Linked DNA regions of Homo sapiens: regions 1, 3, 4, 5, 6 and 7 are each linked to region 2. Evidence: promoter capture Hi-C in human tissues and cell types (Jung and others, 2019). All regions are on one chromosome and are shown on one strand. Each heading gives the region's core, a stretch centred on a gene start or on the middle of the fragment in contact. The rest is flanking DNA. Distances are from core to core; before and after follow the strand shown. Region 1 overlaps ITFG1 (integrin alpha FG-GAP repeat containing 1). Region 2 holds the start of ABCC12 (ATP binding cassette subfamily C member 12). Region 3 holds the start of ITFG1-AS2 (ITFG1 antisense RNA 2). Region 4 overlaps ITFG1 (integrin alpha FG-GAP repeat containing 1). Region 5 overlaps ITFG1 (integrin alpha FG-GAP repeat containing 1). Region 6 overlaps ITFG1 (integrin alpha FG-GAP repeat containing 1). Region 7 overlaps ITFG1 (integrin alpha FG-GAP repeat containing 1).

The links. Contacts are between HindIII fragments. The study calls those that stand out against the background at their distance.
Region 1: a contact is called between a fragment that was not itself captured here and the fragment with the promoter of ABCC12 in region 2, in 3 of the 25 tissues and cell types used here (dorsolateral prefrontal cortex, mesendoderm cells and spleen).
Region 3: a fragment that was not itself captured here is called in contact with the fragment with the promoter of ABCC12 in region 2 in 1 of the 25 tissues and cell types used here (dorsolateral prefrontal cortex).
Region 4: a fragment that was not itself captured here is called in contact with the fragment with the promoter of ABCC12 in region 2 in 2 of the 25 tissues and cell types used here (dorsolateral prefrontal cortex and mesenchymal stem cells).
Region 5: a contact is called between a fragment that was not itself captured here and the fragment with the promoter of ABCC12 in region 2, in 3 of the 25 tissues and cell types used here (aorta, dorsolateral prefrontal cortex and mesenchymal stem cells).
Region 6: a fragment that was not itself captured here is called in contact with the fragment with the promoter of ABCC12 in region 2 in 2 of the 25 tissues and cell types used here (dorsolateral prefrontal cortex and lymphoblastoid cells).
Region 7: a contact is called between a fragment that was not itself captured here and the fragment with the promoter of ABCC12 in region 2, in 4 of the 25 tissues and cell types used here (H1 embryonic stem cells, dorsolateral prefrontal cortex, lymphoblastoid cells and 1 more).

The regions. Positions count from the first base shown.
Region 1 is chr16:47,227,207-47,230,743 of GRCh38, forward strand. All of the region lies in intron 13 of ITFG1 (integrin alpha FG-GAP repeat containing 1), which reads right to left. Among named protein-coding and RNA genes, the nearest start is that of ITFG1-AS2, 44 kb to the right of the region's middle. RefSeq lists a silencer at 3,219-3,419. The HindIII fragment of the contact is 6,477 bases long and covers 1-3,537 here.
Region 2 is chr16:48,154,193-48,157,437 of GRCh38, forward strand. ABCC12 (ATP binding cassette subfamily C member 12) reads right to left here and starts at 1,801. Exons shown (of 31, transcript NM_001393797.1): 1 at 1,649-1,801. The HindIII fragment of the contact is 12,201 bases long and covers 1,430-3,245 here.
Region 3 is chr16:47,271,343-47,274,621 of GRCh38, forward strand. All of the region lies in intron 10 of ITFG1 (integrin alpha FG-GAP repeat containing 1), which reads right to left. ITFG1-AS2 (ITFG1 antisense RNA 2) reads left to right here and starts at 1,630. Exons shown (of 3, transcript XR_007065056.1): 1 at 1,630-3,279. The HindIII fragment of the contact is 3,754 bases long and covers 125-3,279 here.
Region 4 is chr16:47,349,153-47,352,697 of GRCh38, forward strand. All of the region lies in intron 8 of ITFG1 (integrin alpha FG-GAP repeat containing 1), which reads right to left. Among named protein-coding and RNA genes, the nearest start is that of ITFG1-AS2, 78 kb to the left of the region's middle. The HindIII fragment of the contact is 3,472 bases long and covers 1-3,010 here.
Region 5 is chr16:47,444,448-47,447,759 of GRCh38, forward strand. The region is part of intron 5 of ITFG1 (integrin alpha FG-GAP repeat containing 1); the gene reads right to left. Among named protein-coding and RNA genes, the nearest start is that of ITFG1, 15 kb to the right of the region's middle. The HindIII fragment of the contact is 5,602 bases long and covers 1-3,312 here.
Region 6 is chr16:47,384,464-47,387,936 of GRCh38, forward strand. The region is part of intron 6 of ITFG1 (integrin alpha FG-GAP repeat containing 1); the gene reads right to left. Among named protein-coding and RNA genes, the nearest start is that of ITFG1, 75 kb to the right of the region's middle. RefSeq lists an enhancer at 2,115-2,615. The HindIII fragment of the contact is 4,169 bases long and covers 1-3,473 here.
Region 7 is chr16:47,405,757-47,409,474 of GRCh38, forward strand. All of the region lies in intron 6 of ITFG1 (integrin alpha FG-GAP repeat containing 1), which reads right to left. Among named protein-coding and RNA genes, the nearest start is that of ITFG1, 53 kb to the right of the region's middle. The HindIII fragment of the contact is 8,012 bases long and covers 1-3,718 here.

The sequences.
Region 1 (3,537 bases), core at 526-3,025, 930 kb before region 2:
AATATACTAAAAATAGTTATGCTCATAGAAAATGCCAAGAGATCTGGAATAATTTTTACTTTGTGTTTCTTCTATACAATAAAGGTACAAGGAGTATTGCTGTATCTTTCACACCTTTTACATACTTGGGTTATATTAGGGTGTCCTTTTAAATGTCACATCTGATGCTTGTTTGAAAGAATTCAGGGAAGTTAAATTTAGACATATTAGTGATGGTTCAATTTTTCATACTATCAGTAAAAAAAGACTATCATTGGCACCCTTTTTCTCATTCTAGGATGTGTCACACTGATGTAATGCAGTTTAGGTGTTGTATCATATAGATTCTTTCTAACTAACCTGATCTCTTGTGTGCCTATTGTCTTATAAAATTGGGGTTGGAATACCTCTGTTTTCTTTAGAGACTTTTTTAGTAAGCCAAATGGTGGTTTCTATATTAGTGTCAATTATTTGATTACCTAGGGTTTGTTTCAAGGTCTTGGGCTCCTATAGTGGAGCGCAAATAATACTTCAAATCATTGGCTCTGGATGATGAAATAAAAATGGAAAAACATATAAAAGATACTGTATTAGGTATAATCAATAGCTATTATATGATAGAAATTCATGATTCTAAAATATTAGAAAAATAGCTGACTTATAGAGTGGACTTAACTTTTCTCAAGGGTAATTTTTAAAAATCCTGTTTATTTTTTAAGTGAACACTCACTGGCATTTGTCTTTATCTTCATTAACGTTAGCTGTAATGCCCAATTTAGTTTAATATTGACATTTTTTATTGTTTCTTGCTCTTTAAGACATTAAATAAAACATTATTTCCTTTAATTTTGGTTATTTTCCAATGAAAACTGCAAGATATTTTCCCTCTGACTAAGGTAAGTAAAGGACTGTAAAAAGGTATATTAAATGCAGAAAATATCCATATCATCGTTTTTCTATCTTTGGTACACGAAGCATGATATCACCACTGTCAGGTGTGATAAAAGAAAGGCAAACAGAATTAAGGAGTGAGTAATATTTTAAGGAATGTCAAATAAATCAGTTATAATCAATAAATAGTGGTTGAAGTAATGCCTGCTATATTTTAAAGCATGGTAAAACAGTACCAAGTAAGATCATTCACTTCACCAAAATAAAGATAAGAAGGTTTTTTTTTTGTTTGTTTGTTTTTTAGACAAGGTCTCACCCTGTTGCCCAGGCTGGAGCCCAGTGGCGCGATCACAGCTCACTACGGCCTTGACTTGTGCTCAGGCGATCCTCCCACCTCAGCCTCCTGAGTACCCGGGATTACAGGCGTGTGCCACCACATGCAGCTAATGTAAAACATTTTTATTCTGTAGAGACAGGATCTCACTATGTTGCCCAGGCTAGTCAGACAAGTCTCGAACTCCTGGGCTCAGGCAGTCTTCTGCCTCAGCCTCCCAAAGTGCTGGGATTACAGGTGTAAGCCATGGCATCTGACCCGAAGATAAATGTACTTGTCCTGTACTTTGTCAGAATGTTCCTAAATAGAATAGGTAAAAGCCTGAGACCCCTTCTGATTGAAAAGATTAAAAAGTTAAGTCACCTTGTTCTGTTGCATATATTAAAAATTAATTGTTGTAACAATGGAAACAATTGTGTTTCATTAGGAGGTATTTCTGTGAGCATTAATAGGGAATGTTTTTCCTTTGCATCAGAGCTTTTCCAGAATGCATTTCTCTTGTAAATAGCTTGTAATTTATTTTTCAAGTTTTCATACTTAACAGTGAATATGCTATTGGGGTGAGAGATGTGATGGTAAACTTATCAATGACGGCCCATTAAAAAGCAAACCAAATTCTAGAGAAAGCTCATTTATTCATACCTCAAATATTTGTCATGTAACTATGTGTCAGGCACTGTGCTGGGGAGTAAAGACTGAATAATCAATAAGACACAATCCTGAAGGGACTTAACACAGATACTCACCCACTTTAAACTATAATAAGTGACAGTAGTAGGACTAGGCATAGGGTGCTAAGAAACAACAGAAGGTGCATCCAACTCTATGTCAAACGGAAGCCAGGGAATGCTTTCTCGGAGGAAATATTGTCTGAGTGCCAACCTGAAGGTCACACAGAGCAAACTAGGAGAAGGTGAAGAAGAGAAGGCTTTGTTACAGAGGCAGGTGCAGGAACAGGAGGTGACAGAGGTGACAGAACATAGTGGTTCAGAGATCTGATTATAGAGTTGTGGGAGGGCCTGAGGAAAAACTGCAAGAGATAAGGCTGAAGGGGTAAACCAGGGCTCTATCTCAGGAAGCTAGATTTAGATCATCTCTCAAGGGTAAAGGGTAGCCACTGAAGGTTTGTGTTTTAGAAAGATCACTGTTGTATGTTTTTGAAGGATAGCTTAGATAACTGCTGCAGTCAGGCAAAAAAAAAAAAAAGTCCTGAAATAAAGTAACAGGACAGAGAGAAGGGACAGTTGTGGGGAAAGAATGATAATCTAGTAGATTTGGGAGACAAGGGAAAGGAAAAAGTGAGCCAGGGAACGTGGGAAGAGGACTGGGTTTTGGGGGGTGGGGAACATTACATTTCAGGGTCCTTCCTTGTAAGGGACTTAGATACAAAGGTCTGATGTTCAGGAAAGTGGTTGAGATCACTTAAAGAGTTTAGAGTAGTCGCCGCTCATGTGCGGTTTCATGTCCTGTGGTTTCAGTTACTCATTGTACAATACCATAATGTATTTTGAGAGATAAATATTCACATAACTTTTATTACAGTATATTGTTATAACTGTTCTATTTTATTATCAGTTATTGTTGTTATTAATCTCTTACTGTGCCTAATTTCTGAACTAAGCTTTATCATAGGTACGTACGTGTAGGAAAAAGAAGGTGCATAGGGTTCAGTACTATCCGAGGTTGCAGGCATCCACTGGGGATCTTGGAATGCGTCTTTGTGGATAAGGGGGGACTATTGTATATATAGTGAGAAGAGAACCTAGGATGGAACCTGAAAATCACCAACATTTGAAAGATAGGCAGAAGAGAAGTTCATAAAGAAACCCGGAAGAATGGACAGAGAGGTAGGAGGAGAGCTGGGAAGAAAGAGCAGGAAGGCAGCCGAGAAAAGGGAGTGTTTCGGTAAGTGTTGGCAGTATCACATGCAGCTGCAGCGGCATAAGCTCAAAGGCTAGACGATAACAGTGGGTTAAGGATACTGAGGTGAGGAATTTGAGAGATCCAAATGCAGGCAACTCGAGTTTGGCTGAGAAAAGAAAAGAGAGATGGGTAGTAGCTGGAGGGGATGTGGGTTTCAGAAGGTACATATGTATACATGTACAGATAAGAGACTTAGGCATCCTTAACTGCTGAAGGAAAGACACCAGCAGACAAGTGGAGGCCAGATGCATAGGCCAAATAAACAGTGGAACAAGGCCCATAAGGTTCCTGGAGAGGAGGCAGGTGTGACCCACAGCACAGCTGGCACGCTGATTTTCAGTCAAGAGGAAAAGCAATGAGAATGGCTGTGGAGGAAGGGATTATGTTTAGTGCTGCAGAGGTCAACTGAC
Region 2 (3,245 bases), core at 551-3,050:
GGCAGGGGGTTCCTAACCTAACCTCAACAGACTGGACAGGCAGAAGCAGGAAGGCCTCTGTTTAGAGCACAGGACACAAAGACCATGTACAACTTGCAGTTCCATTTTATATGGCCTGCATAGTTTAAACATTTTTTTCCAATTTGTGGAAAACATTTAAAAATGAGGAGATACCACATTAAAAAAAAAATAAGACTGGCTTCTGGCTTTCGTCAAATATCAAGAGCTCTGTATGTTCATGTGGTGACAATCCACTTACGTTGAGCACGGCAGCCCCTCCTGGGCAGGGTATACATGCTTTAGTTTGCCACAATCCCCACCACTCCTTACTGTCTCTGTGACTCTGAGATTTGGGGTCATGTAACATTTATTATTGCATTGGCACTGCTGTCTTCCTTATAGTGTTTCCTGAGGCCTTTTTCTCTATCCTTGTCTCTGCCCCAAGAGAGAACAAAAGATGTCTAGAAGTCATCTCAAGAAGAACCATTTTCCACACCTGCCCACTTTGCTCTGTTATATTTCATTTCTGCCCCTGTCTAGCCCAGAAAATTAACAACTTTATGTTTGAGAACTGGACTCTGGGTCTTCCTTGGTGCTCATGATGGGAGTTCCTCCATCAACCAAAAGCAGGCACACCTTTAGTCATAAAATTTTTCCCAGGTATGAGACTACAGCCCTACTTCTTTCTTAATAAATCCATTGTTAATTTAAAGCCACCAAAGTTATCAATATCTGATGGTCTCCCCCAACTCCCACAGCCCCTTCCTCCAGGGCCTGACTGGCCTCCAGCACAGAGGAGACACTGGGGAGCTCTCCCAGGCCCTGCCTGCACCGCACCTCTCCTGTCTGTCCCCAGGTCCCAGGCACCTGTGGCAGCCAGATCAGAAAGCCCTGTGAGTGATGAGGGACTGGGGTTGGGAGGCAGGGAGAGGCAGAGAGGTGGCAGAGGGAAGTGCATGCAGGGGACAGCACCAAGCTGGGGGTGTGGGAAGGGAAGTGGGGGTGCTTTTGCTCAAGTACCCTCATCTCCCAGAAGGCCTAAAACAGTGGCCAGTGATGGCATCTCCAAAAGAGGTCATCCATCCAGTTACAGACACATTCCGACACGATCAAAGAAGGATGCAGAGCCTGGATTCAGAGCAATTCAAATCTACCCTCCCAGGAAAATAATATATTTAAAAGTTAAAAAAAAAAAAAAAAGAAAGAAAGATGAAAACCTCATATGAGAACTGCAGTAAAGCTTTCCAGGTCTTTTTTTTTGGGGGGGAGGTATAAATCCCATAATTAAATTGTGAACACTACCCTGTATATGTGTTTGTGTTTGTGCATGTGTGGGAAAAGACTTAAAATATTCAATGTAGGCTTTTGTATTTCAGAGATTTTGAAATCGCGTCTTGGCATTTCTGCCTTTTCTTTTATGATAGCGGGGGCTCCAAAAGTGGAAGAGGGGCTGCCTTTCTTCTGGGAGCCTCGTCCCTGCTGCCTCCCACTTGGGCAGCCCCATTCAGTGGTGTCACCTCCCCCAAACCCCCCACCACACACACACACAGCCTGTCCTGAGGATGAGAAACAAAGGCCCTTGGGACTAAATGGTGGCCACTAATTGTTACAGGGAGAAGCTTTACCTGGGCTGGAAATGAAGCTTTACCTGGGCTGAGGATGAGAGGGAGGGGAGGAGGGTCAGCAGTCATGGGGCTCAGAGCCTGGCATCTGCTGCCCAGGACTCCAGGGCCTGCTTCTCCCCAAGGACCTCAGATTCAGTTTCTCTTGTCCCACCCGCCTGAAGTCCTCCTCTCCAACTGCCCCATTCAACTGCCACTCCCACCACACCTGAGAGGGAACTCTGGCGGGCCAACATTCCCTCTGCCCACATTAAAGGGCTCTCCCCTCTTCCAGGATGGCCTGTGGCCGGGTCTGGCTCTTTGGTGACAGTCAGAGCCCATGCATGAAAGCACTGTGCATGGCCAGCCCTTCCCTGGCTGTCACAGCACATCCTTGTAGAAGAGAAGGAGAAAAATCCTCTCTCCAACCGTCATTCTACAGACGAGAAGCCCAAGGAACAGAAGCCTGTCCACGACTGGCGTGGGGCTGAGACCAGCACCCAGGTCCCCTGAGTCCCACTCCAGGCTCCTTCCTGAGAGAATGCATCGAATTTTCTACGCTGTGTTCCTGCAACCGGGAATCAACTTTGGGATCAGGGGAAGGGAAGGGAGGGGAGGGGAGGGCAGGGGTAGGGGAGGGCAGGGGTAGGGGAGGGCAGGGGAGGCGAGGGGAGGGGAGATGAGCCTCATCTTCAAAACAGAAAATCTCATTCATTCATTCCCCATTCATTTAACGAAAAAGAAAAGGGTAATTTGAGCTCAATTTGTCTTGAAATGAACGGAAGGTAAGTCTGAGACCTGCACTAGCAGCTAGCCCTTGCATAGAAAAGTTCCCCTGTGTCACCCTTGGAACCCTGCACATCCCGAGCGCAAGCGTGATTCCCGGGGTCCCTTCTGCGCCTGTCCCAGAACAAGCGCCCGATTTCAGGGGAGCCCAGCCGAAGGGTTCCACAGCGCTCAGCGAGCCGGCTGGGAGGGAGCAAACTCTCTAACTGCAGAAAAAAACAAATCTTGATTCCGCTTTAAGGGTTATTTAAACATCTTAGAGGACCTTCCCAGCCTCACGCACGTGGATTTCATGAGGAACTTGGCCGCTACCTTCTCCTGTCCTGCGCAATGCCGCCCCCTGCTGGCTGCCTTCCGGCCCCGCCGCTTCCTGGAGATGCGAATTCACCGCCTTTGCCCAACCTGAGTTCCCTTCCTACCTAGAGGGAGGTGGAAATGGAGAGGGGCTGTGGGCAGCTGTGTAGGAAAATGGGTCCTCCCAGGAAGGCTCCCCGGCCTGGGGAGTGAGCTAGACCGACAGCAGTTTCCTTACACGTGTCCAAAGTGTTCCATTTAATTTCCGTCCATTCTTCCCTTCATGAATGCAAATCACTGCTAATAATATCACTCGACATTTCTGGAGCCCTTTGTGTATCGCAAAATTCTTCATCCTCTTTATCACTTGATCTTCGCAACAACCCCGGGGGTCTCATAAACACAGCAAAGACTCGCTTCCACAATCTTCCAAACGGAGTCAAGTGCTGTCAAGTTTATGGAGGAAGAATGCCGATCAGTTTTCCTCTATCTCCATGAAAGGCTGGGCGGAGATGGATTTCCACCCAGACAAACAGTATTGGGCGCTACGCAAGAAGATTGGTG
Region 3 (3,279 bases), core at 752-3,251, 880 kb before region 2:
GCCAACAAGTACGTGAAGAAAGCTCAACATCATTAGCCATTAGACAACTGCAAATCAAAACCACAATTAAATAACACTTCACACCCACCAGGATGGCTAAAATAAAAAAGACAGGTAACAGAGGTTGGTGAGGATATAGAAAAACGAGAATACTTGTATAATGTAGACGGGAATATAAAATGGCAAACCTGCTTTGAAATACAGTCTGGTGGTTCCTCAGTTAAAAACAGAGTTCTGGCCGGGGCACTGGCTCACGCCTGTGATCCCAGCACTTTGGGAGGCCGAGGCGGGTGGATCACGAGGTCAGGAGATTGAGACCATCTGGCTAACATGGTGAAACCCCGTCTCTACTAAAAATACAAAACAATTAGCTGGGCGTGGTGGTGGGCGCCTGTAGTCCCAGCTACTTGGGAGGCTGAGGCAGGAGAATGGTGTGAACCCGGGAGGCAGAGCTTGCAGTGAACTGAGATCACACCACTGCACTCCAGCCTGGGCGACAGAGCGAGATTCCATCTCAAAAACAAACAAACAACAAAAACCAGAGTTCCACCTCTAAAGAATATTCTACTCCTAGGTATATCTCAAGAGAAATGAAAACATGTCTACATAAAAACTTGCATATGAATGTTCACAGCAGTATTCATAATAGCCAAAAAGTGCAAAAAACCCATATGTCCATCAACTGAAGGATGAATAATGAAATGTAGTATAACCATATAATGGTCTGTTGACAACAGAAAGAAAGGAATACTGCTACACACTACGACATAGAAAAATCTTGAAAACATTATACCAAGTCAAATAAACCAGTCATAAAGTAACACATATTGTATAACTGCATATACAAGATGTTCAGAACAGGTCCAATTATAGAGACAGAAAGCTACAGAGACAGAAAGCTATAGAGACAGAAAGAAGATTAGTGGTTTCCTAGGTCTGGTGGCAGTGGACGAAGTCGTAGGGGAATTGGAGAGTAACAGCTAAGGTGAATGGGGCTTCTTTTTAGGGTAATAAAATGTCCTAAAATTGCTTGTGATGATGGATGCACAACAATATGAATACATTTTTTTTTAATTGAAGTCCAGCTCTGTTGCCCAGGCTGGAGTACAGTAGTGTGATCTCGGTTCACCGCAATCTCTGCCTCCCAGGTAGAAGTGATTCTCCTGCCTCAGCCTCCTGAGTAGCTGGGATTACAGGCACGCGCCACCACGCCCAGCTAATTTTTGCATTTTTAGTAGAGATGGGGTTTCACCATGTTGGCCAGGCTGGTCTCGAACTCCTGACTTCAAGTGATCTGCCTGCCTCGGCCTCCCAAAGTGCTGGGATTACGGGCGTGAGCCATTGCGCCCAGCCTGAATACACTTTTAAAAGCCACTAAATTGTATAGAATAAATGGGTGAATTGTATGGTGTGTGAATTATATCTCAACAAAGTGGTTAATACAAAAGTTAACTGCAGAACATTTCAACCTATTTAAAAAACCCATGGTAAATGTTTAAGTGACATAATGTGTAAAATGTACATATTAAATGTTGCTTCTCTGAATATGCCAATATTTGTATATCTAGTATGCAATTTTTTTGAGGCTGGTTTTAATTTATCTTCAAAGGCTATAAAATTGGTGGTGTTACTCAATACACTACCACTTGATGAGGTCTGGGTTATTCTAGGTGGTTAATGTGCTGTAAGCAACTGTCTTACTTCTCATTAAGAGAGGTAGCTTATGGATCATTTAACTTAAAGTCTGATTTTTCTCCTTGGCTGTCCTTAGAGCTCATGTCCATTTTAGTCATTTCTATATTCAGTGAGTTCTCCTCTTCCAGACTGTCTTTAACTCTCTTCCTTAATTCCCCAATTTCATTATCAGCCTAGACTCAAATGGAAAGAGCTTCAATGTGGGGATACGTCTGTCTTACTGTATAAACCTTAGGAAAGCCAGTTCTACATGGAGAAGAAAAACAAATTAAGAAGAAACACAAATAAGTCCATTAGGAATCCTCTAAAAATTAAACATTAAAAAAATGATGCTCTGAAACCCATGCTGCCTACTATCGGTAAGTGCAGAATGCTTAGCTAAGCTGATATAAAACTTTCACTTAGAAATACTAAATATTATTGAAGTGTTTTGCAACATATGCTACTGACAACAAGAAATAGTCAAAGGCAATTAATTGATATTCACAATAAAGTTCACTTTATCTCTGGGCAAATGCAATCCATTTATCCCCAGTCAGTGTCTAGGATATGTGACTCAGTGGGGGAGACAGCACATGTTACCTGAATGAAAAAAGGAAGCGAGCATCTTTTGTAGAGGGAGGCCAACTGAAAGGGAAACCTAATGGAATATAACACTGTGACTGCTGAAAAGTTTCTGTCAAATAGGTGAGTAGAAAATATTTTGTCATGTTTTAATTTACCTATATTCAAAAGAATCTATTAGTTTGTTTGTTTATTTATTTATTTATTTATTTATTTAGAGATGGAGTCTCACTCTGTTGCCCAGGCTGGAGTGCAGTGGTGTGATCTTGGCTCACTGCAAACTCCTCCTCCAGGGTTACTACAAAATATTCATTAGCTCATAAAAGGTAAGAAATCCATGTACTTTAATAACTATGAGATACAAGAATTAATCGGCTGGGCGTGGTGGCTCACGCCTGTATTCCCAGCACTTTGGGAGACCGAGGTAGGTGGACTGCTTGAGGTCAGGAGTTCAACACTAGCTTGACCAACATGGTGAAACCCCATCTCTACTAAAAATACAAAAATTAGCTGGGTGTGGTGGTGGGTGCCTGTAATCCCAACTACTCGGGAGGCTGAGGCAGGAGAATCGCTTGAACCTGGGAGGTGGAGGTTGTGGTCAGCCAAGATTACGCCATTGCACTCCAGCCTGGGGGACAGAGGGACTCCATCTCATAAAAAGAAAAAAAAAGAACTAACCAAATGTAAGATTCAATCTTATCATCTTGAGAAAAGTTTGACCATGCTGAGTTAACAGAATTGCCCACCTTAAGAAGGTGCATTTATCCTATCAATGAAAGTGTATTAAAGTAAGATTAAACCAGGAATGTATATAAAATCAGCTATTAAATCCTTTGCTAAGCAGAGAACAGAACACTTAGACAATTAACTAAAACTTGGGCTGAAAGAAAGAACAGATGTAACACAATTAGCCCTTCTAGTAAAAAAAACTGAAAACTTTTTTCCTTTTCAGGTTACTGTTGGCCTTAGGTGACCCCAAGTGACCCAATTGAAGATTTAAGCTTCACATGCTATGAGATG
Region 4 (3,545 bases), core at 25-2,524, 810 kb before region 2:
TAATGAGCAAAGTTACCAGCTAACATCATAATGACATGATCAAATTCACACATAACAATATTAACATTACATGTAAATGGGCTAAATGCTCCAATTAAAAGGCACGGACTGGCAAATTGGATAAAGAGTCAGACCCATCAGTGTGCTGTATTCAGGAAACCCATCTCATGTGCAGAGACACACATAGGCTCAAAATAAAGGGATGGAGGAAGATCTACCAAGCAAATGGAAAACAAAAAAAGGCAGGGGTTGCAATCCTAGTCTCTGATAAAACAGACTTTAAACCAACAAAGATCAAAAGAGACAAAGAACACCATTACATAATGGTAAAGGGATCACTTCAACAAGAAGAGCTAACTATCCTAAATATATATGCACCCAATACAGGAGCACCCAGATTCATACAGCAAGTCCTTAGAGACCTACACAGAGACTTAGACTCCCACACAATAATAATGGGAGACTTTAACACCCAACTGTCAATGTTAAACAGATCAATGAGAGAGAAAGTTAACAAGGATATCCAGGAATTGAATTCAGCTCTGGACCAAGCAGACCTAACAGACATCTACAGAACTCTCTACCCCAAATCAACAGAATATACATTCTTCTCAGCACCACACCACACCTATTCCAAAACTGACCACATAGTTGGAAGTAAAGCACTCCTCAGCAAATGTAGAAGAACAGAAATTATAACAAACTGTCTCTCAGACCACAGTGCAATCAAACTAGAACTCAGGATTAAGAAACTCACTCAAAACTGGTCAACTACATGGAAACTGAACAACCTGCTCCTGAATGACTACTAGGTAGGTAAATAACGAAATGAAGGCAGAAATAAAGATGTTCTTTGAAACCAATGAGAACAAAGACACAACATACCAGAATCTCTGGGACACATTCAAAGCAGTGTGTAGAGGGAAATTTATAGCACTAAATGCCCACAAGAGAAAGAAGGAAAGATCTAAAATTGACACCCTAATATCACAATTAAAAGAACTAGAGAAGCAAAGCAAACACATTCAAAAGCTAGCAGAAGGCAAGAAATAACTAAGATCAGACCAGAACTGAAGAAGATAGAGACAAAAAAACCCTTCAAAACAATCAATGAATCCAGGAGCTAGTTTTTTGAAAAGATCAACAAAATTGATAGACCACTAGCAAGACTAATAAAGAAGAAAAGAGAGAAGAATCAAATAGACGCAATAAAAAATGATAAAGGGGATATCACCACCGATCCCACAGAAATACAAACTACCATCAGAGAATACTATAAACACCTCTACACAAATAAACTAGAAACTCTAGTAGAAATGGATAAATTCCTTGACACATACGTCCTCCCAAGACTAAACCAGGAAGAAGTTGATTCTCTGAATAGACCAATAACAGGCTCTGAAATTGAGGCAATAATTAATAGCTTACCAACCAAAAACAGTCCAGGACCAGATGGATTCACAGCCGAATTCTACCTGAGGTACAAGGAGGAGCTGGTACCATTCCTTCTGAAACTATTCCAATCAATAGAAAAAGAGGGAATCCTCCCTAACTCATTTTATGAGGCCAGCATCATCCTGACACCAAAGCCGGGCAGAGCCACAACAAAAAAAGATAATTTTAGACCAATATCCCTGATGAGCATCGATGCAAAAATCCTCAATAAAATACTGACAAACCGAATCCAGCAGTACATCAAAAAGCTTATCCACCATGATCAAGTGGGCTTCATCCCTGGGATGGAAGGCTGGTTCAACATATGCAAATCAATAAACATAACCCAGCATATAAACAGAACCAAAGACAAAACCACGTCATTTCAATAGATGCAGAAAAGGCCTTTGACAAAATTCAACAGCGCTTCATGCTAAAAACTCTCAATAAACTAGGTATTGATGGGATGTATCTCAAAATAATAAGAGCTATTTATGACAAAACCACAGCCAATATCATACTGAATGGACAAAAACTGGAAGCATTCCCTTTGAAAACTGGCACAAGACAGGGATGCCCTCTCTCACCACTAATATTCAACATAGTGTTGGAAGTTCTGGCCAGGGCAATTAGGCAGGAGAAGGAAATAAAGGGTATTCAATTAGGAAAAGAGGAAGTCGAATTGTCCCTGTTTGCAGATGACATGATTGTACATCTAGAAAACCCCATCGTCTCAGCCTAAAATCTCCTTAAGCTGATAAGCAACTTCAGCAAAGTCTCAGGATAGAAAATCAATGTGCAAAAATCACAAGCATTCTTATACACCAAAAACAGACAAACAGAGAGTCAAATCATGAGTGAACTCCCATTCACAATGGCTTCAAAGAGAATAAAATACCTAGGAATCCAACTTACAAGGGATGTGAAGGACCTCTTCAAGGAGAACTACAAACCACTGCTCAATGAAATAAAAGAGGACACAAACAAATGGAAGAACATTCCATGCTCATGGATAGGAAGAATCAATATCGTGAACATTGCCATTCTGCCCCGGGCAATTTATAGATTCAGTGCCATCCGCATCAAGCTACCAGTGACTTTCTTCAGAGAATTGGAAAAAGCTACTTTAAAGTTCATACGGAACCAAAAAAGAGCCCGCATTGCCAAGTCAATCCTAAGCCAAAAGAAGAAAGGTGGAGGCATCACGCTACCTGACTTCAAACTATACTACAAGGCTACAGTAACCACAACAGCCATGTACTGGTACCAAACAGAGATAGAGACCAATGGAACAGAACAGACCCCTCAGAAATAATACCACACATCTACAACTATCTGATATTTGATAAACCTGACAAAAAAGAAATGGGGAAAGGATTCCGTATTTAACAAATGATGCTGGGAAAACTGGCTAGCCATATGTAGAAAGCTGAAACTGGATCCCTTCCTTACACCTTATACAAAAATTAATTCAAGATGGACTAAAGACTTAAATGTTAGACCTAAAATCATAAAAACCCTAGAAAAAACCTAGACAATACCATTCGGGACATTGGCATGGGGAAGGACTTCATGTCCCAAATACCAAAAGCAATGGCAACAAAAGCCAAAATTGACAAATGGGATGTAATTAAACTAAAGAGCTTCTGCACAGCAAAAGAAACCACCATCAGAGTGAACAGGCAACCTACAGAATGGGAGAAAAGTTTTGCAATCTACTCATCTGACAAAGGGGTAATATCCCAAATCTACAATGAACTCAAACAAATTTACAAGGAAAAAACAAACAACCCCATCAAAAAGTGGGCGAAGGATATGAACAGACACTTCTCAAAAGAAGACATTTATGCAGCCAAAAAACACATGAAAAAATGCTCATCATCACTGGCCATCAGAGAAATGCAAATCAAAACCACATTGAGATACCATCTATACCAGTTAGAATGGCGATCATTAAAAAGTCAGGAAACAACAGGTGCTGGAGAGGATGTGGAGAAAGAGGAACACTTTTATACTGTTGGTGGGACCGTAAACTAGTTCAACCATTGTGGGAGTCAGTGTGGCGATTCCTCAGGGATCTAGAACTAGAAATACCATTTGACCCAGCCGTC
Region 5 (3,312 bases), core at 201-2,700, 710 kb before region 2:
TTTCTCATTTTATTAAACATGACAAACTTTTCCTATGAATTTAATAAAAGAAAAAGGTATATACTGTAAAAAATTATTTGGCTCAGAAGCCAACATGTAAATTTATATATTAGGTGATAGTATTATTACATTAACAGGATACAGAAAATAGTAAAAATAAAATTTCATAAGATAAAATAAGATGCTTCACTTTAAATGGAATTTTCTTGATATGATTTTATAAAATATGCTACATTATAGAAAAAGATACCAAATATACAACAAATTATGCAAAAGCTTTATCTACGAATTTGATGGTCCTAGAGAATATTCCAGTCACATCTGCAACAATCATTTTACCTTCCAAAATCACTTTGGCATGAAAGTTACCTTCTTTCCAATTAATGATCTGTCCTGGGATACAGTGCTAAGAACAGTTATAAGATCTGCTTTTTGGAAATTGGTTTTTCTTACAGATGCTCTCTTTTCTTTGCTCTCCCAAGGGTCTCTCTCAACAATAATGGATTTTTTGACAATACTCACGTAATGAAATGGCAAAGTCATTAAAACAAAAACTGTCATGCTACCACAACCCCACTCCAGTGCATCCGAATTCAGAATACATCAACATGGACCATGATGTCTGCTTTTGTATGCAAGCTTCATGTTAAGAGAAATGTACATTAAAAAAAAAAAAAAAAGAAAAACTGGAAGTTCTATTAGTTTGAGATATCTTAGTTAATTATAAGAGATTCCCCAGGCCGGGCGCGGTGGCTCTTCCTGTAATCCCAGCACTTTGGGAGAGCGAGACTCCGTCTCAGAAAAAAAAAAAAAAAAAAAAAAAAAAGATTTCCCCCACGTTTGATATCTATGGGTTTTCACATCCCAGCAAATCACCATTAGTAAGATTTAGGAAATGTAAGGAAGACAGCATTCTCATGTGAAGGAGAAAGTTATAGTGAAAACAGGTACACTCTCAGGCACATGAATTTTAGCTAAGAACACCTATGAAGCCTGAGATTCTAGAAGTTGACATGCTTAAAATGATCTGTATTTCCATATTTCTTTGCAAGTCTTTACTTATGATAAAGTAAACAAACACAGGCTAGCACATTGTGTTTTCAAAGATGGTCACATTATTTCCCATCTCACATGCTCTTTTGCATTCAATTTTGCCGTGCCTATATCAGGAGGTAGAGTCTATCATCTACTAACTCCACTTAATCTTAGCTAGTCCCATGACCTATTTTGACCAAGAGAATATAAAAGAAATGACACTTGTTTAACTTCCAGGATTGGATCTTAAGAGACATGCAGTTTCTGCCTATGTTTCATGGAATGCTTTTGAAAAGCACCCATTATGCTACAATGAAGTCCAAGCTAGCCATGGAGAGAGAGGTGGAGGCCATATGAAGGAGCACCACCAAAGGCCCCCTGTGACTTGTACCCCTTGTACCCCTGTGATGGTACAAGAACGAAGGCAAAAGCACAGCCTTTAGAACTTGGAAGATCCAGATTCAATTCCCAGATTTAGCATTTATTTACGTATTTGTGAGCCTGTGGTAGTCACTTAATCTTTGAATTAGACTCTTAAGTCACTGTTAGCCACACAAGCTATCTGTTGTAAGAAAGAAAAAAAAAAGAGGCAACTGATGTTAAGTGCCAACCCCAGACTTACTTGATAAACATTTAATGAAACAACAACAAGCTTGCTTGAGATACTCTTTGTTCTCTTATTTCCCTATCCAACTCTGAGCCTCCAAAGGGACAGATAAGCTGTACAATTCCGTGGTGTGCCTCCCCAGCAAGATACACAGAAGACTGGGAAAAGCATCACTAGAGAACAAAGTCACCCTGGTAAATTCCTCATGAATCACTCACTCTGGGCTTCAATGAGAACTCAAAGGTGCAGTTCTGGATAAATCTTAAGGACCTCTCAGCAATAATGTCTCAGGTACATAAGAGAAAATACGAAGATTTCTTACATAAGAGAAAACATGAAGATTTCTTTCAGTCATGTTTTATTATACTTTGTCCCAATGTTTCTACCTTCCTAGGGGGTGCAACAGTAAGACTACACCTAAGAGACAGCACTGACTACTAATACAGGCAAATACAGTGGAAGAACAGGCAGTCTGAAAAGAAGCACGCGTCCCACAGTTGAACGCACACCTCCAGTCAGGACTACTGTGAAACTCACTCAGGAGCTAGAACTCAGAGCTTAGGCCTCCAGACTGATAAAAATCAAGTATTTGTAAGGCATTTTCAACAGTGTATACACTTTGAAAAAATGCAACTAGAATCTAATGAAAGAGGACTTAATCTATATTTTCAGAAATTATGATTCTGATTCATTTCACCCTAAATTGAAATGGTAATAGATACTAATCTTACTCAAAGCCTGCTATATACATGGATTTTTCAACTATACTGGTTTTTTCTTTTTTTTTTTTTGAGATAGCGTCTCACTCTGTTGCCCAGGCTACAGTGCAGTGGTGCAATCACGGCTCACTGCAGCCTGGACCTTCCTGGATCAACAATCTTCTCACCTTAGCCTCCCAAGCAGCTGGGACCAGAGGAGTGCACCATCATGCTCGATTAATTTTTTCTTTTTCTTTGTATGTAGAGATGGGGTCTCCCTGTGTTACCCAGGCTGGTCTTGAACTCCTGGGCTCAGGTGATCCTCTTGCCTCATCCTCCCAAAGTGTTGGGATTACTGGCATGAGTCACTGCCCCTAGCCTATACTAGTTTTAATACATACACAGGTATTAACAGTAATGAAATAAAGCAAAATGGTTTCTCCCCAAACAAGGAAACAAAGTTTTAATACATTCCAATAAAAGGAAATGTTACTATCAATTTTTTTTGCACAGAAACTGTAACACTATACTTTTCTCAAAAGAAGATGATCTTTCTGAATTACAAATATACATCTAAAAATTATTAAGATTTAACTAAAAGGTGAGTAAATTTTGATAACATCTTAAAACCATTTACTTAGAAACAAACAATTTCACTTAAATATAATACTACCAATCAGAACATAAAATAAAGCAGTATAAGTCACCAAGAAATCTGAGGTAATTAACTTTTAAATTTTTATTTATTTATTTATTTTGAGACAGAGTTTCACTCTGCTGTCGCCCAGGCTGAAGTGCAGTGGTGTGATCTTGGCTCACTGCAACCTCTGCCTCCCAGGTTCAAGCAAAAATCTGAGGTAATTTAATTGACCCCTCCATCACATCTGGTGGGACTATAGGAAATAAAATTATAGACCCTTAAGAAATGAACATGCCACTTGAAATAACCACCATATAAGTCATCTGCTAAAA
Region 6 (3,473 bases), core at 651-3,150, 770 kb before region 2:
CATTTTCTGCTAGAATAACCCTGGTCTTAATGAAATAACCTGTCTCTAAGGTTTCCGCACATTATTTCTGGAACATACTGGAAGGGAATATTTTTCCTGAATCTAGAGCACTGTAGTGATAAAATGCCTGAAGTAATACAGTCTGATAACTTGGAAAAAGTAAAGCAAAATGTTACCTTTCTGGACTTCACTTACTTGCCTATAAAATGATGTGAAAGAATGATCATCAAATTTTTTTTCCACGTCATATCCACCAACTGATTCAAACATCTTTTAAATATCTCTGACTGCGTGGCAGTCAACTAGGTATTGGAGAGATAAACACAAATGATGGCGGGGCATGGTGGCTCACACCTGTAATCCCAGCACTTTGGGAGGTCAAGGTGGGGAGATCACCTGAGGTCAGGAGTTCGAGACCAGCCTGGCCAATGTGGTGAGGTTACTGTCTCTACTACTTCTCTCTACTCCTTCCTTGAGGAGGCAGATGTGGAAATTGACAAATACTATGTGGTAATGGCTCTGCTAGAATTATGAATACATACTATTGGAACAGAGCTGGCAGAGGTACTCTCTTGTTGGACGAATTTGAGGAGGGCTTCACTGAGGAAGTGACATTTGCACTGGTCAGAAACTGTGCAATTCGTTTTAAGAAGTTATTATATTCACATTAGTGAAATGCTAACATTACCAACACGTGACATTGTGTTTATAAAGGTCTGTATGTTTGAAATAAGTTAAAATCAAATAATCAGATTATTAAGAAACTTCAGGTTAAAGTAATTTATTAAAATAATGAGGCACACTCATGGCCTCTAATAAAATTAGTTCAAAAAAATTAAACAAAGTTTATTAATGTAAAATACACACTAAATACACTTAACAATTATAAAAATTGCTCTTATATGCATTCCAGTGGTACACAATCTGAAGTTGGTAATTCTGAGAAGTAAATAATTTCCCCAGCATATGGCATTTGATTAAAGTAGTCCCTAAACTTAATATGTGAAACTACAAAAAATTTCTCTTGAAGCAGAAACAAGTATAATAGTGATTAAACATGAAAATAAAATGTATATTAAAAATATTAAGGCTTCCTTTCAAAAGCTACATGAAATAATTTTAAAAACAATGTTAACTCTGAAAGCCTATCTTCAATCATTCTAATGCAGCAAAGAGTAAACCTTACAGTGACTAAGAACTTCTAATGAACCTTCTTTTTCCTCAGTTTTCTCTGCCTGCTGTAATAGCAGAATGCTAGTTATAGGTCATGCTGAGTGCTCACTTCAATGAGAAGACTTCAACCTTTCTTTTTTAATGTCAAAGGGCCTTACAAGAGAACCAAAACTTTGAGCTTTTAAAACTGAAGACTTAAAACACTGCACTAAAAACAAGGAAAGGCTGTTAAGCTAGACAGGACAGTTCTAATGCTGTTTTGTAAATTGATCATATTTAACTTACAGACTAATCTATAACATGGAAGAATATTCCTTTGGAGCATACATGATAAAACCTTCATCCTAAAAAAAGCCACAGCCAAAACAGTGGGCAAAATTCAAGGCCATTGACTTAAACAAAAAAACATCTGTTATCCGGCATTAGGACTGATGAGTTTTAGGTCAGCAAATGCCTACCAATTGTAAAAATTCCCTTCTGGAATGACAGTGTGATCCCTACAGACCTGCTCTCCAGTAAAACAAGCATAACTGGGGGAAATTATTAAAAAAAAATTTACAGTCTCTGGAAATTGTTCTGAGAGCATATAACAAACGAAGAAACATTTATTCAAGAAAATATACTGAAATCAGACAAGAAGAGCAAGAGCCTGTAACTTTTGAACTACTACCTGCTCTTTCTCTCCTCCTCCTAGCTCAGTGTGAAGGAAACTCTGCTTCAGGAAGCTGCAGCCAAAAACACAGGGCTCCCCCTCCACCCAGCTCCTAGTCAAGGACTGTGGTAACTTCTTGCGGGGCAGGCCACCATTTCTCATCTCCTCCTGCTATATGCTGTAGAGGCTAAATTCCAAGAGTGTGAGGTCAAGAGGCTGGGGACACCCCTTCTTCAATCCAGCCCCTACTCACAAAGGTGGAGGATCCATCTCTCGTGCAGCACACTAAGAATGGCAGGGGCCTAGCGACTCACACACCACCCCTTTTGTAGGCCTTTGGTTCAATGCCGGAAAGGGAAGCAAAGATCAGAAGCTACCACTCCAATGCAGTGTTCTGATCCTAAAGCAGGGATGCCTCTCAGGGGGAAAGTGTGTCACTGTCCTCACTCTCACCTCTGGAGCCATGCTCAGGGATTCTGCCCAGGAGAAGCGTCAGGCTGTAACAGGCAGCTACAAAGCTGTCCCCTAATATTTAAAACAGAGTGTGGGGAAGTTCAAGCCTAAGGGTATATTCAAAACAAATGGAGGTTTGATGGAAAGCAATAGAGAGAAGGCAGTCAGCCTCATGAAAGAATCAAACTAAATCACAGACCAGGGCTTAACAGAGAGAACTAGGGAATGAAGATCTACAGATAACCTTCCTGAAGTCTGGACAAACCTACAACACCAACCTACAGAACAAACCTGCAAAGGAATCCAAACTTAATTATATCAGACCATGGAGCAATTTATGACCCAAGGTATTGTCAAAAATAGAGCAATCAGCTGGCAATTACTGAAGCCTAACAGCTGAGTGTGATCCAGAAGGAGACAAAGAGAGCCCTGCTAAAACCACTGTCATACCAGGATGACAAGGTACGTCTCCAAAGCTGTAGCCTCTGAGGAGCAACATCAAAGGCTTCACACTACAGGGAAAATAATCTTTATTGAAATAGTCTAGCCAGTCACTAAACAAATAAGCAAGCAAACAACAATAACAAGCTTTGGGGAGTGGAGGGCAGTATCCAAAGTTGCTACAGTATATTATTGTGGAAAAGAATCTGGCTCCATTTTTTAATATTTGTCTGTTGACAGCTTTTAAATCTTACCCCTCCCTTTTCCTCTTGTGCCCTATATCTGGGCAAGCTGGTAAAAAAGCCAGCCTCCTTTGGTGCTGGTGGGAGGTTCATGCCCCTCAAGCCCTACTCATGCATAGGAACCTCACCCAGGCCCCACCTCCAAACAGCACACAAATAACCTTCCAAGGCAGTCTCCTGTCCTTGATCTCTCAAATCATTTTCAGACCAGTTTGGAAGGCCTGCCTTGCGGTTCCCACAAAGCCTCTTTATGTGATTGATAAACCTTCTCATACCTTCTTGGCTTTTGAGCCAAATTTCGGAGGGAAGACTGTGCATACTTTTTCTGTGGAATGACCATAACAATTACCTAAATGTCCAATAAAAAATTATGAGACCCATAAAGAAACAGGAAAGTATAATCCATATACAAGAAAACAGAAAACCAAAAACCTGGCAACAGACAGTGCTGTGAGAGGGACCAGATGTAAATTTCACAGACAAAAACTTTAAAGCAGCCACTACAAATATGT
Region 7 (3,718 bases), core at 287-2,786, 750 kb before region 2:
TATTCTCATTATTTATTCATGACTGTATTTCAGATAAAGACTAAACGTTTGTTGCAGGTTTGATGCTCTGACTTTTTGGGGGGATGAATAAGGGGGGTACTTTCCTGGATTAAGTCCTGGTTCTAATAATAGATACTTATAATTATGAAATAAGCAAGATGTAATATAGCTACAACAGAATATTTCTGTGAAGTTTCTCTCAGAAGTGTTTAGTCCAGGAATATATGTGTGTACACATACAGAAGTTACGGCATACTTGAAATAAAACATTTTCCATTACTTTGTCTCTCTGGTGCCCCTTCCTTATCAGAGAACATAATGATAATATCAGAAACAACTGCAGTTTTTAGTAAACAGGTCTCTTCATCTTTGCTGATAAAGATCAACTATTTTTTAGAGCAGAATTTGAATCAGTTCAAATGATGCATTTAGAAGCGATTTATATGATAACCTTATGATATCTTAAGGTTGGAGTGATTTAATTTGTATTTTTAGAAAAGAAACAAAATTCTTGAAAAATGTGTCTGTTATTTTCTATGTCTGCTTAGATAAAATTCCCACAGCCAAAGTATCTAAGCATTGTATGTATTTCTGAAAATCTTCTGGGGTTTTTAAAAGGAAGCTCATTCAATAGTGTATGTTTGAACTTCTGCAAACTAACGCCAATTTCATCAAGAGCTCCTTTTGTTAGTTGTTAAATCTTTAGCTGAAAAAGGCCTACCAATTAGGGACAGTTTGAGTACTTAAAAATATGCTAGCTGTCCTTAAGGTTCTCTTTTCTCCCCCAAAATGTGGCTATTCAACAGGTATCTGTCAAGTCCCTATTTGGTGGCAGGCACTGTTCTGGGCACTGGAGAAATGACAGTGAACCGAAGAAACAATCTATGCCCTCATGGAGTTTGCATTCTAGTATGGGAAGAAGCAATAAAAACATTAAGTATATAGTATTTTAGCAGGTGAAAGGGCTTTGAAGAAAAACTAAAGAAGGGTAAGGGCAAAGGAGAGTGTTTGAAAGTTGTGATTTTGAATATAGCGACCCTCACTGAGAAGGAACATAACATTTAAATAAAGATGTGAAGAAGGTAAAGTATATTTTGAGAAATAACTTGAGGGAGGTGATCTGGATATCCGCAGGAATAATATTCTAGGCAGAGAAAATAGTTATTCAACCCAAGTCCTAAGGTTGGACCTTGTCTTGTATTTAAGAAACAATAAGGAGGCTGGCAGGCTAGCTCAAGGCATCAAGCGGGAAAATAGAATGGAAGGTCGAGGAGATAATGGTGGGCCGAGTAAGTGTGGCCTAGTAGGCTGTTTTAAGGACTTTGGCTATTTATCCAAATGTAATGAAGAAGCCACTGGAAGATTTTGGGAAGAGTCATTTACATTTATAACGGATAATGGGAGACAAGGGTGGAAGCAAGGAAACCAGTAACTGAAACAATCCAGGTGAGAAATGATGGCGACTTGAACCAGGAGGTTACAGTGGAGGTGGTAAGAAGTGAACAAGTTGTGGAAATATTTCAAAGGAAGAATGAGCAGGATTTCCTTGCAGACTTGATATTGGGTGTGACAGAAAGAGGCAGCAAGGATGACTCCAATGTTTTTTATGTTTTGAGACAGAGTCTTCCTCTGTCACTCAGGCTGGAGTGCAGTGGTGTGATCTCGGCTCACTGCAACCTCTGCCTCCTGGGTTCAAGTGATTCTCGTGCCTCAGCTCCCTAGTAACTGGGATTACAGACATGCCTGGCTAATTTTTCTTTTTGTATTTTTAGTAGAAATAGGGTTTTGCCATGTTGGCCAGGCTGGTCTAGAACTCCTGGTCTCATGTGATCCGCCTGCCTTGGCCTCCGAACGTGTTGGGATTACAGAAGTGAGCCACTGCGCCCAGCCAACTCAACATTTTGACAGAATTGGAAGGACGGGACTGCCATTTAGTGAGACGGGAAGCTTAAGGGTTGAGGTGGTTTAGGAGGAAAGATCAGGGATTCATTTTGGGAAAAATAGTCTGAACTGTCTATCAGACATGGACATAAAAGTGGACATGGCTAGTAGGCAGTTGCTATGTGGCTTTGGAGCATAGTGGGACGTCTAGCTTGGACATATACATACATATGTTATTAGTATGCAGGGTTATGACCCAGTAGATGGTGCTTATTAAAGCCATGAGATCACCAAGAGTGTGCAAAGAAAGAAAAATAAGACTCCTGTATAGCTCCACTAAATATACTACAAACAACTGACACTCAGGGTATTACTGTACATCTGGAGCTGAAATTCCACTGCATTTTAAAACGCAAATCAGTGTCTTTAAAAATCAAGTTTAAAATTTTCAATACAGAATGAATAGAGTGATGCCAGGCTATAACCACTTCCTTGAGGTTTATGCTTTAGTATTATTTGAGTCTGGTGATCTTGTTTTTTCGTCTTTGGTTCCTAGCACAATGCTTGGAAGAGTAAAGTCTCAGTAAATAATTTTGAATTTGATGAATGAATGAATGAAAAGTATGTGTGATATTAAAGAAATTTTCAGGTTATGTTTCCCTTGGCCGATGACATAACACTTGCCCTTTTAAATGTCCAACAGGTCCCATCCACTCTGCACAAAGAAGTTCCTAAGCAGGCATTCTGAGTGTGAGCTTACAAGTTCTAAAAGTAAAACATATGCTTGGCTTGACCAATAAAGGTGAGGCTAAAGGCCATGTAAAGTGATATCTTTCCAGTTTTACAAGAAGTAGAGAAATGATCTAATAAAGAAAAAGGTAAAGAGTCCCTGGGGTTGAGGACTATATATTTAATATCTCATCAATAGACCAGACTCTAATTCCTTTATCTCAGGGCCATAGTCAGAACCATGATAACTATTTTCCAAAAAAAAAGAAAGCAAAAACAGGCGTGGTGCTCAGAGAGACAGTTCTAATTTATGTGACTTGTCACAGCTGAGATCTTATCTTGACTGGATATATGTCTATATTGAAGATATTAGATTATTCTTTCTCATTATTTGGGACAGTGATCCCAGTCAGCCAAAGGTAACTGCGTAGGGCAGGAGTTTGCAAGCCTTTTAGTTTTAGGACCTCTTTATACGTTTAGAAATTATTGAGGACCTCAGAGAGGTTTTGTTTATGTGATCTATACCTGTTGATTTTTACCATATTAAAAATTAAAAGACATTTTTAAAACATATGAATACAAACACATATACGTAACGTGTCAGAGTAATGAAGTCATTAAATGTTATGAAGTCTCTCGAAAATGCTAATATATACTTGTGAAAGAAAAAGAGCAAAAAAAGCAAACAATTTTTTATGGGTTTTATGAAAAATTATTTTGACCTCCTGGATCCTTTCAAAGGGCTTGTGGCCTAGGGGAAAATTAGGGTTATCATAACAAGACTGCAAAAAGAGCCAAAATTCAGCTTTTGACTTCTGCAATGAAGTTTTTGAGTCTCTCGAGAGAAAAACTATGGAAAAATTAGATCTGTGCTGCTAAATAAGGAATCCTCAGGGTCATCAAAACAGAGAGATGAATATCTAAAGATATAACCGAAATACCAAAAAAAAAATCCAACTGGATCACAGATTTAAATGCAAATACATAACAAGACACATACACACACACTATATATATATATATATATATATATATATATTTTTTTTTTTTTTTTTTTTTTTTTTTTGGAGACAGAGTCTCACTCTGTCCCCCAGGCTGGCGTGCAGTG